4 separate regions of the Homo sapiens genome follow, and all the other regions are linked to region 1. The links are contacts of gene promoters, found by promoter capture Hi-C in human tissues and cell types (Jung and others, 2019). All regions are on one chromosome and are shown on one strand. The core of a region is centred on a gene start or on the middle of the fragment in contact, and the rest is flanking DNA. Distances in the headings are between cores, read along the strand shown. Region 1 holds the start of RNF168 (ring finger protein 168). Region 2 has its middle 27 kb from the start of LINC00885. Region 3 overlaps SENP5 (SUMO specific peptidase 5). Region 4 holds the start of SENP5 (SUMO specific peptidase 5).

Evidence for each region. The method cuts DNA at HindIII sites, captures the fragments that hold promoters and counts their contacts. A contact is called where the count stands out against the background at its distance.
Region 2: a fragment that was not itself captured here is called in contact with the fragment with the promoter of RNF168 in region 1 in 2 of the 25 tissues and cell types used here (lymphoblastoid cells and thymus).
Region 3: a fragment that was not itself captured here is called in contact with the fragment with the promoter of RNF168 in region 1 in 1 of the 25 tissues and cell types used here (IMR-90 fibroblasts).
Region 4: a contact is called between the fragment with the promoter of SENP5 here and the fragment with the promoter of RNF168 in region 1, in 1 of the 25 tissues and cell types used here (dorsolateral prefrontal cortex).

What each region holds. Positions count from the first base shown.
Region 1 is chr3:196,502,208-196,506,342 of GRCh38, forward strand. It overlaps RNF168 (ring finger protein 168), which reads right to left and starts at 1,561. Exons shown (of 6, transcript NM_152617.4): 1 at 666-1,561. The coding sequence starts at 966. LOC105374307 (a long non-coding RNA gene) reads left to right here and starts at 3,145. Exons shown (of 3, transcript XR_924897.3): 1 at 3,145-4,004; 2 at 4,120-4,135. RefSeq lists enhancers at 1-355, 356-1,039, 691-760, 801-890 and a silencer at 1,511-1,810. The HindIII fragment of the contact is 9,103 bases long and covers 218-4,135 here.
Region 2 is chr3:196,113,045-196,117,398 of GRCh38, forward strand. No RefSeq gene overlaps it. Among named protein-coding and RNA genes, the nearest start is that of LINC00885, 27 kb to the right of the region's middle. RefSeq lists a silencer at 331-448. The HindIII fragment of the contact is 5,653 bases long and covers 1-4,354 here.
Region 3 is chr3:196,921,755-196,926,324 of GRCh38, forward strand. It overlaps SENP5 (SUMO specific peptidase 5), which reads left to right. Exons shown (of 10, transcript NM_152699.5): 7 at 1,660-1,797. Among named protein-coding and RNA genes, the nearest start is that of NCBP2-AS1, 16 kb to the right of the region's middle. The HindIII fragment of the contact is 3,504 bases long and covers 1,171-4,570 here.
Region 4 is chr3:196,864,983-196,869,517 of GRCh38, forward strand. It overlaps SENP5 (SUMO specific peptidase 5), which reads left to right and starts at 2,938. Exons shown (of 10, transcript NM_152699.5): 1 at 2,938-3,091. RefSeq lists a silencer at 2,715-3,294 and an enhancer at 3,946-4,447. The HindIII fragment of the contact is 4,194 bases long and covers 1,433-4,535 here.

The sequences.
Region 1 (4,135 bases), core at 311-2,810:
TGCAGGGTTGAGTGATAAAAAAGCGACTTTAGCCTCGTCGCATGATTAGGAGAATCAAGAATTAAATGAATGGAGATGTATAGATAAGTAAATCAGAGGCCGGGCGCGGTGGCTCAAGCCTGTAATCCCAGCATTTTGGCAGGCCGAGGCGGGCGGATCCCTTGAGGTCAGGAGTTTGAGATCAGCCTGGCCAACATGGTGAAATCCCGTCTCTACTAAAAAACAGAAAAATTCCCCGGGCGTGATGGTGCACGCGTGTAACCCCAGCTACTCGGGAGGCTGAGGCAGGAGAATCGCTTGAAACCGGGAGGCGGAGGTTGCAGGGAGCCGAGATCGCGCCACTGCACTCCAGCCTGGAGGACGGAGCGAGATCCTGTCTCAAAAAAAAAAAAAAGAAGGCTCCAGACGGGCAATTCTTTAATTTTTAACACAACAAACACCCATCGAACACAGCGCGGGCATTTTGACAATGGACAAAATCTTGCCCTTGACTTTATAATCCATCGACATTTGGGGACCCATAAACCCCCTAACCTCTGAGAACTATTTAGACAAATACTAGTCGGGTTTTTTGGTTTGTTTTTACTTTTTAAATGGAAAAGTGATGATTCACCTTTTCAAAGACTTGCGGCTTTTGGCCAACAAACACGCCATGGTTTACTCACCCACTTCCTCTGATTCTTGGCCAGACGCTCTAAGCTTGCACTCCCTGGGATAGTGTTTTTGAATTATCGTCCACAGTTCCACGTTGACGAGAGAATTTCTTCGGGTATGGTACCGAGTCCACGACGATACCCGGCGGCGACAGAAGGGACAGCATAAACTCGCCTTTTCGACGGTCGACTGGAAGCACGGTTTACACAGCGTGTGGTTACACGGGAGGGTGACGGGCTCCACGAGGATTTCCATGCAGATCCCGCACTGGCACTCGGACAGCGAGGGGATGGCGTCTTTGGGTAGAGCCATTTCAATATGTTAGTAAAGCCGACTAAACAACGACACCTGCACGAAAAAGAATCCTATTTTCGGCCAACCACAGAGAGAGCAAAAGCAGTTTTGTGTTTCAGTATTATGCCCAGAAGCGTATCAGAATTCGGAGAACAGGAGCATCCAACACGTCTTGAAGCAAAAAGGCGCTCTCAGGGTCAGGCAAACAGGAATACCCCGGAGGGCGGCGTCTTTGTCCATTTTCAAGGCAAACGTCCCGCCAGCAAATAAATGCAGGTTTTCGTCGGAGGAGCCTGGCTGCTCCGCGGCATGAACACCGCGGCTGCGGCTCCCGGGGCAGCGAGGGGAACGCGCCAAGTCCTCTCCTCCCCTCACCCGGAAAGGATGCTCCGCTCAGCTCGGGGCAGCCGGGCCCCGGGACGCGGCTCCGGGAGGAAGCCCGGGCTCCGGCTGCAGCATAACTTCCGCTTTACCGCTGCTGCGGGGGAGACGCGCGACTCCCGTGTTCACCTTTCGGGCGCCTGGCGCAGTTTCCCAGAGCTCCGCGCCCCCGTCCCTCCTACGCAGCCAGAAACCCTATTCGTTGCGGCAGCGCAGCAGCCACCGGACAAGCGCTAGCAACGTCACAACCGCCCGCCAAAATCGCACTTCCCACCCAGAAAACTGCCCAAGGGCGAACGTTCCCGGGGCGGGACTTCCGGGGTCTGCGCGCCGCCCGCCCTCCCTCCCAGCCGGAGACGGTCCCGCCCTGGCGTCGCAGCCCCGCCTAGTGCAGCCTGGGTGGAGCCTGACCTTTCCCTGAGATTTCTGCGAGGCCTCAGACACCCCTGGTTTCTTGGTTTCTGGGTAGAAAAAGGGAAACCTCAAAACAAAATCAACAGCCAAACAAGGCCGGGTGCGGTGGCTCACGCCTGTAATCCCAGCACTTCGGGAGGCCGAGGCGGGCGGATCACCTGAGGTCAGGAGTTCAAGACCAGCCTGGCCAACATGGTGAAACCCCCGTCCTTACTAAAAATACAAAAATTAGCTGGGCATTGTGACAAGCTCCTGCAATTCCAGCTACTCAGGAGGCTGAGACAGGAGAATCGCTAAACCTGGGAGGCAGAGGCTGCAGTGAGCCGAGATTGTGCCACTGCACTCCAGCCTGGGGGACAGAGCAAAATTCCACCTCAAAAAATACAAATAAATAAATAGATAAAAGAATTGGGGTCTCACTGTTTTATCCAGGCTGGACTACAACTCCAGGGTTCCAGGGATTCTTTCGCCTCAGCCTCTGGAGTAGCTGGGTCTAGAGCTTGCAACTCCATAGCCAGCTCCGGACCTGCATTTTTTGAGGGAATCAATCAGTGTGAAGGAAGAGAAAAGAAAATCACTGTGCGTGAAAGCAGCCTTTAAGTTGTTTTGAGGCTGCTGAGAGCATTCAGGCTGGGTAGGGGATGGTTTCCAGGTTGAGAACAACGAGGAGACATCGGTCGTTGGTAGAAGTCTTTGGGAACTTTCATTTCAATGTGGGTTCAGAAACCTGTTATTGTCTGTGATAGCTCACACCTGTAGTCCCAGCACTTTGGAAGGCCAAGGCGGGAAGATCAGTGGAGCCCAGGAGTTCAGGTCCAGCCTGGGCAACATAGTGAGACCCTGTCTCTACAAAAAATAAAAAAATTAACTCGGTGTGCTGGCTCACACTTATACTCTCAGCTACTCTGGTGGCTGAGGTGGGAGGATCACTTGAGCCCAGGAGGTCAAGGCTGCAGTGAACAGTGATCGTACCACTGCACCCCAGCCTGGGTGACAGGGCAAGACCCTGTCTCAAAAAAAAGAAAAAAAAAAGAAACCTGGGACTGTCATCTGGTTGTCTACAGTAACAGTACCTTAGCTTGGAATTTCAGGCTTGTTTTTTGTTCGTTTGTTTGTTTTTTTGAGATGGCTCCTCATTCTGTTGCCCAGGTTGGAGTGCAGTGGTTTGATCTCAGCTTACTGCAACCTCCACCTCCTGGGTTCAAGCGATTCTCATGCCTCAGCCTCCCGAGTAGCTGCAATTACAGGCGCGTGCCTTGTAATACCACGTGCATTGTAATACCACGCCTGGCAAATTTTTGTATTCTTAGTAGAGATGGGGTTTCACCATGTTGGCCATGCTGGTCTCGAACTCCTGACCTCAGGTGATCCACCGGCCTTGGCCTTCCAAAGTGCTGGGATTACAGGCGTGAGCCACTGCACCTGGCCTTCAGGCTTCCTAATATGTCCACAACCTGCTTTTCCCATCGAATCTCCCATTATTCTTTTAAACATGCAACTATGATTTATTCTCTGTCATCCAAACGTTTTGCTTTCATGACATTGCTTTCTCGGTTCATCCTAAATGGGTTGCTTTGTGGCTGTGCCTACTTCAAACACCAATTTAATGCAGTTGGGCCAGGCACGGTGGCTCATGCCTGTAATCCCAGCACTTTGGGAGGCCAAGGAGGGCGGATCACAAGGTCAGGAGTTCGAGACCAGCCTGACCAACATGTTGAAACTCAGTCTCTACTAAAAATACAAAAATTAGCTGGGCATGGTGGCAGGTGCCTGTAATCCCAGCTAGTCGGGAGGCTGAGGCAGAAGAATTGCTTGAACCCGGGAGGCAGAGGTTGCAGTGAGGCCAGATTGCACCACTGCACTCCAGCCTGGGTTGACAGAGCAAGACTCCGTCTCGAAAAAAAAAAAAATTAATTCACTTCTTCCAGAGTGCACTTTTATGTGCAATTTAATGCACTCCCCACCACCAGTAATGCCCCTTTTCTAAACTCACCCAGTCATATATTGCCCAGTGATACTGATTTTTATTGCAGTTTTACTATTGAACTCCTGTATTTTGATTTCTATCTTCAGGTGCTTATGTCTTGTGTAATGGATATATTTCATGTACTTCCTCAGATTTCCTTCACTTTGTTTGCTTTCTGTACCCATAATCACTTGCTCTTTTTGGGGCTCACCAGTTGCATTTCCGGAATCTCTGGCTTCTCCTGCCACTTCTGAACAATGCAGGAGCTGACTTCTCAGAGGCTGCTAGGGCCTCGGTAATGCATGCTGGGAGGGTGGGGGGGTCACTCCCCATGGAGTAACTTTCACCAATTGAAACCAGTGGACTGACCGAGCACAATACTTAAATTCCCTTTTCTTCTTCCTTCCAAGGATGGTTTCTCCAGTG
Region 2 (4,354 bases), core at 1,165-3,664, 390 kb before region 1:
CCTCAGGAGCTGGGACTATAAGGGCATGGGCCACCACACCCAGCTAATTTTTAATTTTTTTATTTGTGATATGGTCTTGATCTGTCATCCAGGCTGGAGTGCAGTGGCATGATCACAGCTCACTACGGCCTTGACCTCCTGGGTCCACCTCAACCTCCCAAGTAGCTGGGACTACAGGTGCATGCCATCATGCCTGTGTTTCATTATATATATATATGTTGAGAGAGAGAGAGAGAGAGAGAGAGAGAGAGTAGAGAGAGAGAGTAGATATGGGGTTTCACCATTTTGCCCAGGCTGGTCTTGAACTCCTGGGCTCAAGCAATCCTCTTGCCTCAGCCTCCCAAAGTGGTGGGATTACAGGAGTGAGCCACCACACCCAGAGAATTTTTAAATTTTTTGTGGCGATGGAGTCTCGCTCTGTTGCCCAGGCTTGTTTCAAACTCCGAGCCTCAAGCAATCCTCCCACCTTGGCCTCCCAAAGCACTGGGATGACAGGTGTGAGACAGCATGCCCAGGCATGAATGTGTCTTTAAACATACCTTTTACTTTCTTTTTTTTTTTTTTTAACTGTAGTCATAATAGCTATTTACTTGGGTAAAATTTTCTCAGGATATTTTTGGTATGTGGGGCAGAGGGAGAGCTAGCAAGTGAGAGAAGCTGTCTTTTCAGTACAAAGAGCTCACAGTACTCCGGTCTCCACTGGAAGTTCCGTCTTTATTTTTAAAGGAATCTGGTCATGAGTCTGTTGACCAAGCACATCCTGGTAATCTATTGTCAGATGAGAAGTGTTCTGGATTTCCAACTTATACCATGCATGATAGATGCTGAGTTTCAAGCATAAAACTACTCTAGTTACCAAGATCATACTGCTTTTATGTTGATATAACTTAATTTTATTATTTGCTTCACCTCCCACCAGAATCACTTATTTGCTCACTTTTCTTGTCTATGCTCTAGAATGCACTTACTGCTTAAGCGGCATATTATATGAACCATCCTTTTACATTATAGTTTATTAAAAAGTGGCTTTTGCCGAGTGTGGTGGCTCACGCCTGTCATCCCAGCACTTTGGGAGGCCGAGACAGGTGGATCACGAGGTCAGGAGATCGAGACCATCCTGGCTAACACAGTGAAACCCCGTCTCTACTAAAAATACAAAAAATTAGCCGGGTGTGGTGGCGGGCGCCTGTAGTCCCAGCTACTCGGGAGGCTGAGGCAGGAGAATGGTGTGAACCCGGGAGGCAGAGCTTGCAGTAAGCCGAGATTGCGCTACTGCACTCCAGCCTGGGCAACAGAGCGAGACTGTCTCAAAAAAAAAAAAAGAAGTGTCTTTTCTTTTTTCTTTTTTCTTTTTGAGACAGGGTCTCACTCACCCAGGCTGGAGTGCAGTGGCGTGAACTTGGGAGCCTCGACATCTGGGCTCAAGCCATCCTCCCACCTCAGCCTCCCGAATAGCTGGGACTACAGGCACACACCATCACACCCACCCTGCTAATTTATATTTTGTAGAGACAGGATTTTACCATGTTTCCCAGGCTGGTCTTGAAGTCCCAGGCTCAACTGATCAGCCCACCTTGGCCTCCCAAATTGCTGAGATTACAGACGTGAGCCTCTGCGCCTGCCCAAAGCAGCTGTTCTTTTGCAAGGATTTATTGGTCTGTGGTGCCTCTCCCTCAGTACCCTTGCGTGGTTCTTTTCTTTTTTTCTTTTTTGTTTACTGGAGCTACCCACCATGAACTATTGGTTGGTTATTTATAAAAATATGTTTAGGTTTATGCACATCATTATATTTATTTGCCCACGTGGGCCCCTTGAGCATCAGAGCTTCCTAAAGCAGGATCTTTGCAGGCCATCTCATCCCTCCTCATCATGTATGGATACACAAACCGAGGTCCATTGAGTCCTTTTGAAGAAGGATAGCTGCAGCTAGCTGAAGGCCAAGGCAGGTGGATCACTTGAGCCCACGAGGTTGAGGCTGCAATAAGCTGTGTTCTTGCCACTGAGAGAGAGACTCTGCCTTAAAAAAAAGTGCAAGCTGCAAAGTGGTTGCCTTTTGCTGAGGAGGTGGGTACTGGGAGCAGCAGGAATTGACTGGAAAGAGGCATGAGGACACGTTCCTTTTTTTCCCTTTTTTATTTTTTATTTTATTTTTTGAGACAGTCTCGCTCTGTCACCCAGGTTGGAGTGCAATGGTGCGATCTTGGCTCACTGCAACCTCCACCTCCCAGGTTCGAGTAATTCTCCTGCTTCAGCCTCCTGAGTAGCTGGGATTACAGGTGCATGCCACCATGCCAACTAATTTTTGTTCCCTTTTCTATTTTTTACATGTAATAATTATATATATATATATGTATGTATTTTTTAAGTGCTATTTTTGTTGCATTAAGAGTATGGCTCCCCAGGGACCACAAAGGCCTTTTAGAAGCCTCCGTATGTATTTATAGGTTATCAACAACAACAACAACAAAAAAACCTCTGCTGAAACATACGCAATAGTGATTTAAGAAGAAAAGGAATTTTTCACATTGGATGAGAAAGAACTTCCCAAGTTAGTTGCCTTTACAAATTCAAACATGACGGGCTATCGGCTTGGAGTGTTTTTTAAGAGTGACGATGGGAGGCTTATGGTAAGCCCATTGTTTGACGTGACCCAAGCATGGCCTGGTTAATTTTGACCATGCTCACAGCAGTGGTAGAAGCAACTAGCCACACAGTACCGTACTTGTTCTGAAACACCCATCTCTACTTGTGAAAAAGTAGAGGATCATTGAAGGATCTTAAGAAAAATTTCTGGACCATAGCATATCTCTGCAGCAAAAGAAAAGTAACATATTTGAATGTAAACAAAAACCTGAGACTCACCCCCACACCCCAATGCTCACCACACTCATAAGAAAGGAAGTGAGAATGGGAACCCCCAAAGGCCCACAGAACCTATATACAACTGTCTTTCTCTGTGAAAACAGATCAGCCCCAGAACCTCTATACGCCTCTCTATGTGAAAACAATAAATCAGCCCCAGAACCTATATACACTTGTCTTTCTCTGTGAAAACAATGAATCAGCCCCAGAACCTATATACGCCTCTCTTTCTATGTGAAAACAATAAATCAGCCCCAGAACCTATACACGCCTCTCTTTCTATGTGAAAACAATAAATCAGCCAGAGAACCTATATACGCCTCTCTTTCTATGTGAAAACAATAAATCAGCCCCAGAACCTATACACACCTCTCTTTCTATGTGAAAACAATAAATCAGCCAGAGAACCTATATACGCCTCTCTTTCGATATGAGAACAATAAATCAGCCACAGAACCTATATATGCCTCTCTTTCTATGTGAGAACAATAAATCAGTCACAGAACCTATATACACCTCTCTATGTGAAAACGATAAATCAGCCAAAGAACCTATATACGCCTCTCTTTCTCTGTGAAAACAATAAATCAGCCCCAGAACCTATATATGCCTCTCTTTCTCTGTGAAAACAATAAATCAGCCAGAGAACCTATATATGCCTCTCTTTCTCTGTGAAAACAATAAATCAGCCAGAGAACGTATATACGCATCTCTTTCTATGTGAAAACAATAAATCAGCCCCAGAACCTATATGCGCCTCTCTTTCTATGTGAAAACAATAAATCAGCCCCAGAACCTATATACGCCTCTCTTTCTATGTAAATACGATAGATCAGGATGCCAGAAAATATGTGATTGTCCCCTTCACATTACCTTCCTAATTAATGATTCAAAACTTTAGCAATCCATAATTTTATTTTTTTTCCTTATACAGGGCCTACCCTGCTTCTAGATAATCCCACAACAGATACTAAATAAAACCTTACACAATTGAATTGAAGGAAGTAAGCTTTGTTTGTGTAGTACCTGAGTGAGTTTAGAGAGTACAAACATTGCCCATAACTGAGTATAATAGATATCACAAGCATCTTCCCTATATCACCTCAAACATAAAAATAAAATGCCAGGAGATTTAACGATGTGAATGGGAAAGTCCAAATTATAAGCCTTTTAGAAAAAAACTAAATAGAAAAGTATCTTATTACGTTGGGATAGTAAATGATTTTTTCCTTTCCCACCCCCCACTTTTTTTTTTTTTTGTTGGCAGCCTCCTGAGCCAGAGTAGGCTCAGAGACTCCAGTTTTTTGTGTTTTTGTTTGTTTGTGTTTTGAGACAGAGTCTTGCTCTGTCACCCAGGCTGGAGTGCAGTGGCGTGATCTTGGCTCACTGCAACCTCTGCCTTGTGGGTTTAAGCGATTCTCCTGCCTCAGCCTCCCGAGTAGCTGGGATTACAGGCACCCACCACTACACCCAGCTAATTTTTTGTATTTTT
Region 3 (4,570 bases), core at 1,673-4,172, 420 kb after region 1:
CATGAAGACTTAACAGAAGATTCATTTAGAGCAGGACACTATTTGAGTATCAGAAAGCGAGAAGGAAATCTTGGGAAATTAGTTTCAGAGAATATAAGGTAGTTTAAAATGTTTTAACCCAAGTAATCACCAAATTATGCTAAAAAATACCTGAGAAGGGAAATTGATTCACTCTTTTACAAATGTATGTGGAGCACTTACTACTTTATCACCCACTCTACAACTGGAATTTTGAGTGGAATAGCAAGCATTTCTAGATTGTAAAGGGATATATATTATGATATAAAATATGTGTTAGGATTGTAAAGGATGCATAAGGTATTATCAAAGATGTTTTTCTCAATTTTGACATTTGAGAGACCCAAGCAAGTAATCATAATAATAACTAAGGTATTTGGCTACTTATAATGTGCTAAACAGAGTTGTATGCATTTTACACATATTCTTTTATTACTCTTAAAAACTTCATAAGGTAGGTACTATTTTCTATCCATTTTATTAGTTGCGGAAATCAAGGTGCAAAGAAGCTAAGGAAATTACCAGTCATGTGACTAATACGTGGAAGAGCCACAATTTGAACTTGAGCAGACTTGCTTCAGAGCCCATGATCTTAACTGCTGCTTATATCATGTCTGTTGAACGAGTCTAACTTGAGCAGACTTGCTTCGGAGCCCATGATCTTAACTGCTGCTTACACCATGTCTGTAGATGCAGTTTCAGGGTCTCACTCCGTCGCCCAGGCTGGAATGCAGAGGTGTGATCATGGCTCACTGCAGCCTCGACCTCCTGGGCTCAGTGATCCTGCTGCTTCAGCCTCCCAAGTAGCTGGGACTGCAGGCATGCACCACCACACCTGGCTGATTTTTTATTTATTTATTTTTCTTGAGACAAGGTCTGGCTCTGTCACCCAGGCTGGAGTGCAGTGGTGCAATCTCTGCTCAGTGCAACCTCCGCCTCCCAGGCTCAAGCCATCCTTTGAACCTCAGCCTACCAAGTAACTGCGACTACCAGTGCACACCACCACGCCCGGTTAGTTTTTGTATTTTTTTGTAGATACAGTGTTTCGCCATGTCACCCAGGCTGGTCCTGAACTCTTGAGCTCAAACCATCTGTTGGCCTCTCAAAGTGCTGGGATTACAGGCGTGAGCCACTGAGCCCGGCCTGATTTTTTATTTTTTTGTAGAGACAGAGTCTCATTATGTTGCCCAGGCTGGTCTCAAACTCCTGGGCTCAAGCAGTTTTTCCGCCTCAGCCTCCCAATGTACTGGGATTACAGGTGTGAGCCACCGTGCCTGGCCCCTTATACCATTTTCTAATACTATGATTCCTTTCTAAACAAGAGTTGAATCCAGGTTAAATATGTATATGAGAAAATGAGGTAAACAAGGAGCCAAGTCTTCAGGCACTTGACACACAGGTTTAGTAGATTAACTGGAAAACTGTACTTTGTATATCTTTATTTTTGTATTATTGTTGTGTATTATAGCTTAATAGTTACAAGCATGGGCTTAGAGTAAGACCTGGGTTCAAATTCTGGTTCATTGCTTCCTACTTTTTTGCCCTTGTGCAGGTCAAAGGTCAGCAAATGGAAGCTGCTGGTTTTTGGTGGTTTGGATAGCCTGTGGTGATGGCTGCATTTCTTTCTCTTTTCTTGATCAGGTGGATTTGTTTAAAAAGAGTCTTCTGTTGATTCCTATTCACCTGGAAGTCCACTGGTCTCTCATTACTGTGACACTCTCTAATCGAATTATTTCATTTTATGATTCCCAAGGCATTCATTTTAAGTTTTGTGTAGAGGTAAGTTAATATACTGCCTATTTTTTCATTTATTTTGTAATTGGCCAAATAGCATCTTAGCTCTAGATAGAACAGCAGCAGTCAAAACCATATAGGAACAGTTTATGTCATGAAAATCCTCCAAAGTGTTAGCTGAGAAAAGGACTAGAAGAGGAATCTCTGGCTGAGGAGAGGATCTGTCTAGGATCCAGATCCCCCTCTGAGATACTCCACTTGGATTTTCTCTGCTTTTCCCTTAAAACTACATCTTGAATGTGGTTAGAAATTGTTTTTCTTTGATCATCTTAGAGCTAAAATTGGCCTGTATCTGCAAAATAACTCCTGTAGAATAAACTATAACCTAATGGAATCAATTGACAAAATATTAGTGTTCAGCTAATAAACAGATGGTGGGATACAAAATCAAGAAAAATGAGTAGGTTTCCGGATTTTCCTGCACTACCAAGAACCAGTAAGAAAATGTAACTGGGAATAAGATTCCATTTATAAAAGAAACAAAACATAAATAACCCAGGAATATGCCCTAGGAAGAAATGTGGAAATTCTTTATTATGAAAACTCCTAAAGCTTTAAGTACTTAAAAGAAATCTGTACAAAACTGTAAAAGTATTTGAATGAAATATGGAAAATGTTATGTTCACAGAGTGGGGAAGGACTTCTTAACATGGAACCAAAGAAAAGACATAAGGAACAATTGGATAAATTTAACCACCTAATAATTTAAAACTTCTGTATATCATAAAGTTAAAGGACAAGCAACAGACTTGGAGAAAATATGTATGATGCAAATAACAGACAATAACTATCCAGAATACATGGAAAACTCCTACAAATGAATAAGGGGAGGATAAAAGGACATAATAGAAATGGACAAAGGCTAATTTAGTAAATTTTAGGAAAAATGCAAATGACCATTTAAAAACACAGAGAGGTGTTCAGCCTTACCAGAAATTATAGAAATGCAAATGAAAACTACATCAGTTAAATTTTTTGCCCATTATGTTAGAAAAAGTGATGCTATTCAAGTGTCTATGTAAGTGTAAGGAAATAGGCATTCTCATATTTTCTGGTTAGAGTGTATAAATTGATACAGCCGCTTGGGGATAGTTGCAGTTCTCATCAGTTCTAAGTGCTTTGTAAATTAAAAAGATACAAATTCTGTTGCATATCAGTTCCATTTCTTGTTATCTACTGCATAAAAATGCTTGTATATGCACACAAGAATGAGGCATGTGCGAGGATGTTCATGGCAGCATTATTTATAATAGTGCAAAATAAAACAACCCAAATTTAGCTCTAGCAAGAGAATAGCTAAATACACTATGGTACGGTATACCCATACTATTAAACTGACCATAGTAGTTAAATTGAATATAGTAGACCTTCAAGTCCTCAAATGGAAAGATGTCCAAGGCATAGAGCTTTAAAAAGCCAATTGTGGAATGATACGGTATAGTACACAAATACATGCAGGTGTATGTGTAGACACATATATACATACATATTTGTAAGTAAAAAGGTGGGACCTTACCATTTTTTATATCAATGATTATTACCTTTGGGTAAGTGTAGAAAAGCAGGACTAATAGTTAAAGAGGATTTGGCCTCATTTTGCGTTTTTTTTTTTACAAGGAGAATATTTTCTTGTATTATTTGTTTAATTAACATTTAATTTAAAAATTAAGTATAATGCAAACTATGAGGAAAATCAAGTTTTCGAAATCCACATTTTCATTTCCAAGAAATCCAGGAAAAAAAATACCCCAAAAACAAGAAGCCTCGTGGGCCCAGAGTTCTCACAATACCAGATGTGAGCGTCTTTTCCAGTTCCCTTCCCCTAATTCCTTGCCTTTCTCTCAACCAACATATTCCCATACCTGCCAGAGCCTGTCTATATTGTCTCTTTCCTAGACAGACCTGCAAAGGTATAACCAAAAGTGCAGCCATATCAGTGCCTTTAAGACTCAGATTCTGACAGGCAGAGGAGAGCAGAGGTGTTGGGAAAACTGTTTCAAGTAGGAACTATTTACTGTGCCTCTTGCTTTGTGCCAGGCACTGATGCTAGGGAGTCAGGTAGGGGCCAGAGAAACATTCGCCTTCATGGAGTGAATGATGGTTAAACAGGATTTTGTTTGTAAAACATGCAGTTGGGTTTAAGTCGATTTTGAATCATTAGGGCCTGGTTCTGCACAGTAATAAAAATTCATCTTCTGAATTTTTGCCCAAGCCCTCCTGCAGAGTTCTTACCTTTTCAGCAAAATTACAATTGGCCTAATAATTTTGCACATTTGCAAAAAGACCCTAAGAACAGACTCCTTTTAGGTGATAGCTAGAAGTCATTTAGAGCCAAATACAGTTCAGTCATCTGGCCAGGTGGGGTCAAGCTGTTTTTAGTTTTAAGAGGATGTAGGGGTTGTAGAAGTGGCTCTTAACTAAGGGGCCTGTATTTCCAAAGAATTGACAAAAAGTGTTTTAAACAGTCACCACATAAATGTGTAGATTCCATGACAGCAGAGACTACAAGAGCTTTATTCACTAGTGTCCCCAGCACTTGAACCCTTAGAGATGCTCAGTACATTTTGAGTGCCGGTGACCATTTTTAAGGACAAATCCTTTTTGCCTGTATTTTACTTAAGAATGTACATATACTGGCCGGGCAGGGTGGCTCACGCCTGTGATCCCAGCACTTTGGGAGGCTGAGGCGGGCGGATCAGAAGGTCAAGAGATAGAGACCAGCCTGGCCAACATGGTGAAACCCCGTCTCTATTAAAAA
Region 4 (4,535 bases), core at 1,688-4,187, 360 kb after region 1:
AGGCGTGATCCACTGTGCCCGGCCTGGAGATTTCTTAAATAACTTAAAACAGAACTACCATTTGATCCAGCAATCCCATTACTGGGTATACATCCAAAAGAAAATAAATTATCCTACCAAAAAAACACATGCATTTGTATGTTCATTGCAGCACTGTTCACAATAGCAATGACATGGAGTCAACCTCGGTGCCCATCGATGGTGGACTGGATAAAGAAAATGTACAAACACGCTATGGAATACTTCACAGCCATAAAAAGTATGAAGTCATGTCTTTTGCTGAAATATGAATGTAGCTTGAGGCTGTTATCCTAAGTGAAATAATGCAGGAACAAAAATCCAAATGCTACATGCTCTCAGTTATAAGTAGAAGCTAAATAATGAGTATTCGTGGATATAAGGATGGTAACAACAGGCCAGATGCAGTGGCTCACGCCTGTAATCCCAGCACTTTGGAAGGCTGAGATGGGTGGATCACGAGGTCAGGGGTTTGAGACCAGCCTGGCCAACATGGTGAAACTCTATCTCTTCTAAAAATACAAAAATTAGCTGGGTGTGGTGGCGGTCACCTGTAATACCAGCTACTTGGGAGGCTGAGGCAGAATCACTTGAACCTGGGAGGCAGAGGTTGCAGTGAGCCGAGATTGCGCCATTGTACTCCAGCCTGGGCAACAAGGGCGAAGCTTGGCCTCAAAAAAAAAAAACAAACAACAACAACAAAAAAAAACAAAACCTGAAAATCTAATATTTAAAATTAAGAACTCAATGTATAGATTTAACAGCAGATTGGAGATTATAGAAGATAGACTCAATAACCTGAAAAACAGAAAACCTTCAAACTGAATAATTGAAAAAAAAATTGACATCACAAAGTGTAAAAGACACGGTGAACAAGATCAAATAATCTTACATATGGGCTGGGTGCCGTGGCTCATGCCTGTAATCCCAGCACTTTGGGAGGCTGAGGCAGGTGGATCACCGGAGGTCAGGAGTTGAAGACCGGCCTGACCAACATGGTGAAACCCTATCTCTACTAAAAATACAAAAATTAGCCGGGCGTGGTGGTGGGCGCTTGTAATTCTGGCTACTCGATAATAATACTATTATAATAGTATTATCTACCTCAGTAGATAATACTGCTGAGGCAGGATTATCGCTTGAACCCGGGAGGCAGAGGCAGAGGTTGCAGTGAGACGAGATTGCGCCACTGCACTCCAGCTTGAGCAAAAAGAGTGAAACTCTGTCTCAATAATAATAATAATAATCTTACATATGTAATTGGTGTCTCGGAGAACAGGCATAGAGAATGCAGCAAAAACCATATCTGAAGAGATAATGATTGAGAATTTCTCAAAACTGATGCAAGACATCTACCCACAAATCAGAGAAACTCAATGATATCCAAGACAGATAAATACAAAGAAAACAAAGATAGGGCACAAAATAAATGGCTAAAAATCACTAACAGGCTGGGTGCGGTGGCTCACGCCTGTAATCCCAGCACTTTGGGGGGCTGAGGCGGGCAGATCACGAGGTCAGGAGATCGAGATTATCCTGGCTAACTTGGTGAAACCCGGTCTCTACTAAAGAAATACAAAAAAAATTAGCCAAGCGTGGTGGTGGACGCCTGTAGTCCCAGCTACTCAGGAGGCTGAGGCAGGAGAATGGCGTGAACCCGGGAGGCAGAGCTTGCAGTGAGCCGAGATGGCGCCACTGCACTGCAGCCTGGGCGACAGAGCGACACTCCTCTAAAAAAAAAAAAAAAATCACTGACAAAGAGAAACTGTTAAAAAGAAGTGAGAGGGCCTGGTGTGGTGGTTCACGCCTGTAATTCGAGCACTGTGGGAGGCCCAGGTGGGAGGATCACTTGAGCTCAGGGGTTCAAGACCAGCCTGGGCAACATAGGGAGATGTCATCGCTACAAAAATAATGATAGTAATAGTAATAAAAAATTAGCCGGGCGTGGTGCAGGAGCCTGTGGTCGCAGGTACCCTGGAAGATGAGGTGGGAGGATCGCTTGAGCCCAGGAGGCAGAGGTTACAGCGAGCCTAGGGTGTGCCACGGCACTCCGGCTTGGGCGAGACAGCAAGACCCTGTTTGGAAAAAAAAAAAAAAGAAAAGAAAAAAGAAAAAAAAATCAACAGTAATTGCAGCCATTGCTTAGAACTAAGACTAAACAAAGCTTTTGTTTGGAAAGGAGTACTTTTTCATTAACATTGTTTAGAATTTTCTGACACATGATGATAATTAAAAGCAAACCATCCTGCAGTTGGCTTCGGTATTGTTTTTATCTTCTCCACCATCAATGCATATCCTTACTGCCTACACAGGCTCTCAGCAACGCACTGTTGGTTTTCCATTGCAGTCACCTCCACTTTATTCTTCCAGATCGAGTATGTTCAAAACTGAACTCATCTTCCGCCATAAATCTGCTATTATTATGTTTTTGCCTGTCAGGACATCGGCTTATAATTTTGGAAAGCATTCACAGTTGGGGCGGGTAAGACATAGATAAAGAGGCCAATCACAATACCAGGGGTAAGATCAATAGGAAAACCAGAGAGCGGACGCCTGGGCCAGGCCTCACAACGTCCAGAGCTGGAATGGGTCTTTTGCTTTCGGCGCAGGGGTGACGGGATCAGCGGAGGGTAGGGGTGTACACTAGCTGCGGTCTGATTTAGCCCTTTTAGGTTAAAAGCTGGAGAAGGGGCTGAAGTCTCAAACGCGCTTAGCAGCTCCTGAACGCGGTTCCCATCCCAGCGCGTTCTGAGGGAGGCCGGGGCTAAGGACGCGGTGACGGGCGGGGGCGGGGCGGCCCCGGGTCGGGAGGCGGGGCGGGAGCGCCGGAAGCGGGCGGTGCCAGGCCCAGCCTCGCAGGCGGAAGGGCGCGGAGGAGGTGACGCGATAGGCCAGCGCCGGCGTCGCGGCAGCCGCTTCAGAGGAAGCTCGGCGGCTGTGGCCGCGGCGAACAGGCCGGACGCCTCGTCGCTGGCGGGGCTTCCCTTGGAGCTGACGAAGGCGGGGTCCGCGGTCCAGGCTGCTGCCGCGACGGGGCCGGCGGCGGGGCAGCTGCCAGGAACGAGGGTAGCAGGTAAGCGGGGACGCGGGCAGACGAGTGACGGACTCAGCGATCGCCTGGCGGGGCTGGCTGGGGCCATTCCCGCGCCGGTGCGCCACCTCAGCGCCCGGTCCGGAGGCCTCGAGCCGCCCTCCCCCGCCCGAGCTGGAGGCCGCCGTCCGTCTCGGCCACAGCCTCCCTTTCCGGGGGAGGCGAGCGAGCTCGTCCCGAGGGGCCGCTGCCCTGCGCTCTCGCTCCAGCCGGGCTGTGCGTCGCAGGCACCGGGAAGCTGGCGCCCCCCAGCTCCTCCTGAAGCCGGGAAAGCTCTGAGAGGAGGAGCCGCTGTCACAGGCCTCCAGCTCCGGCCGCCGTGGAAGTCCGGGGTTTTTATTTGCTTAGACCGCTCTGCCTCCTTCCGGCCTTCGTTTCTTTCCTCGCGCTCCCCGGGACCCTTTTCCAGAGAGCCCGGTTGGGCATGAGCGCGGTGGGAGACGTCTTTTCCCTTCGGTCTGCTCTGAGCGGTATCAGCCTCCGCTCTACGCCCTGTGGCCACTCTGTCGGGGTGGAGGGATGCGGAGAGGATGTGGGAGTTTTGGACTTAGAGCGAGAATAGCCGAGGTGAAATCCTACCCTGCTCTCTGGTAGTGTTTTTCATCTCATGCTAGATAGACATTTCGACCTTTTTCACCGCAGGTAAAGTGGGACTTTCTTCTACCAATGTAAATTATAATGTTTGGAGAATTAAATGAAGAAAGCAGACGTTAGTTATGAAATGTTTTGAGAATCTGGTTAAATTTAATTTAAGAATATCCAGGACACTTCATGATAGGTTCCTACTTATGTTTTTTTTTTGCATTTTGCCCGGAATAACTAAGCTTGGTATGGAAAAGGTTGCCTAGAGATGCCAGGCGCTCGTGTGGTCAGAGCCTAACTGCAGTCTCTGTTTTGGGTGGGCAGCATCAGGAAGAAACCAGACTCTCTCCTAGCCATCCACATGTCTCACGCTTATTGATGGCATATTATTGGTATATGAGGGATGGCTTATATCAGTTTTGATCTTTACTCAAGATAGCTTTTTCCCAGTGCATCTTTTCTAGGAGAAAAGCTTGGTATGTAGAGGAGGGTGCTGGGGAGGGGGGCTTCATTTACACCTGGGCTCACAATTTTTTTTTGGAGGGGGGACAGGGTCTCACTCTGACACCCAGCCTGGAGTGCAGTGGCGCGATCTTTTCAGCTCACTGCAACCTCCTCCTCCCAGGTTCAAGCGATTCTCCTGCCTCAGCCTCCAGAGTAGCTGGGATTACAGGTGCCCGCCATCGCGCCCGGCTAATTTTTGTATTTTTAGTAGACATGGGGTTTCACCATGTTGGCCAGGCTGGTCTCGACCTCCTGACCTCAAGTGATCTACCTGCTTCCGCCTCTCAAAAGTGCTGGGATCAGCCGGGCGCGGTGGTTGACGCCTGTAATCCCAGCACTT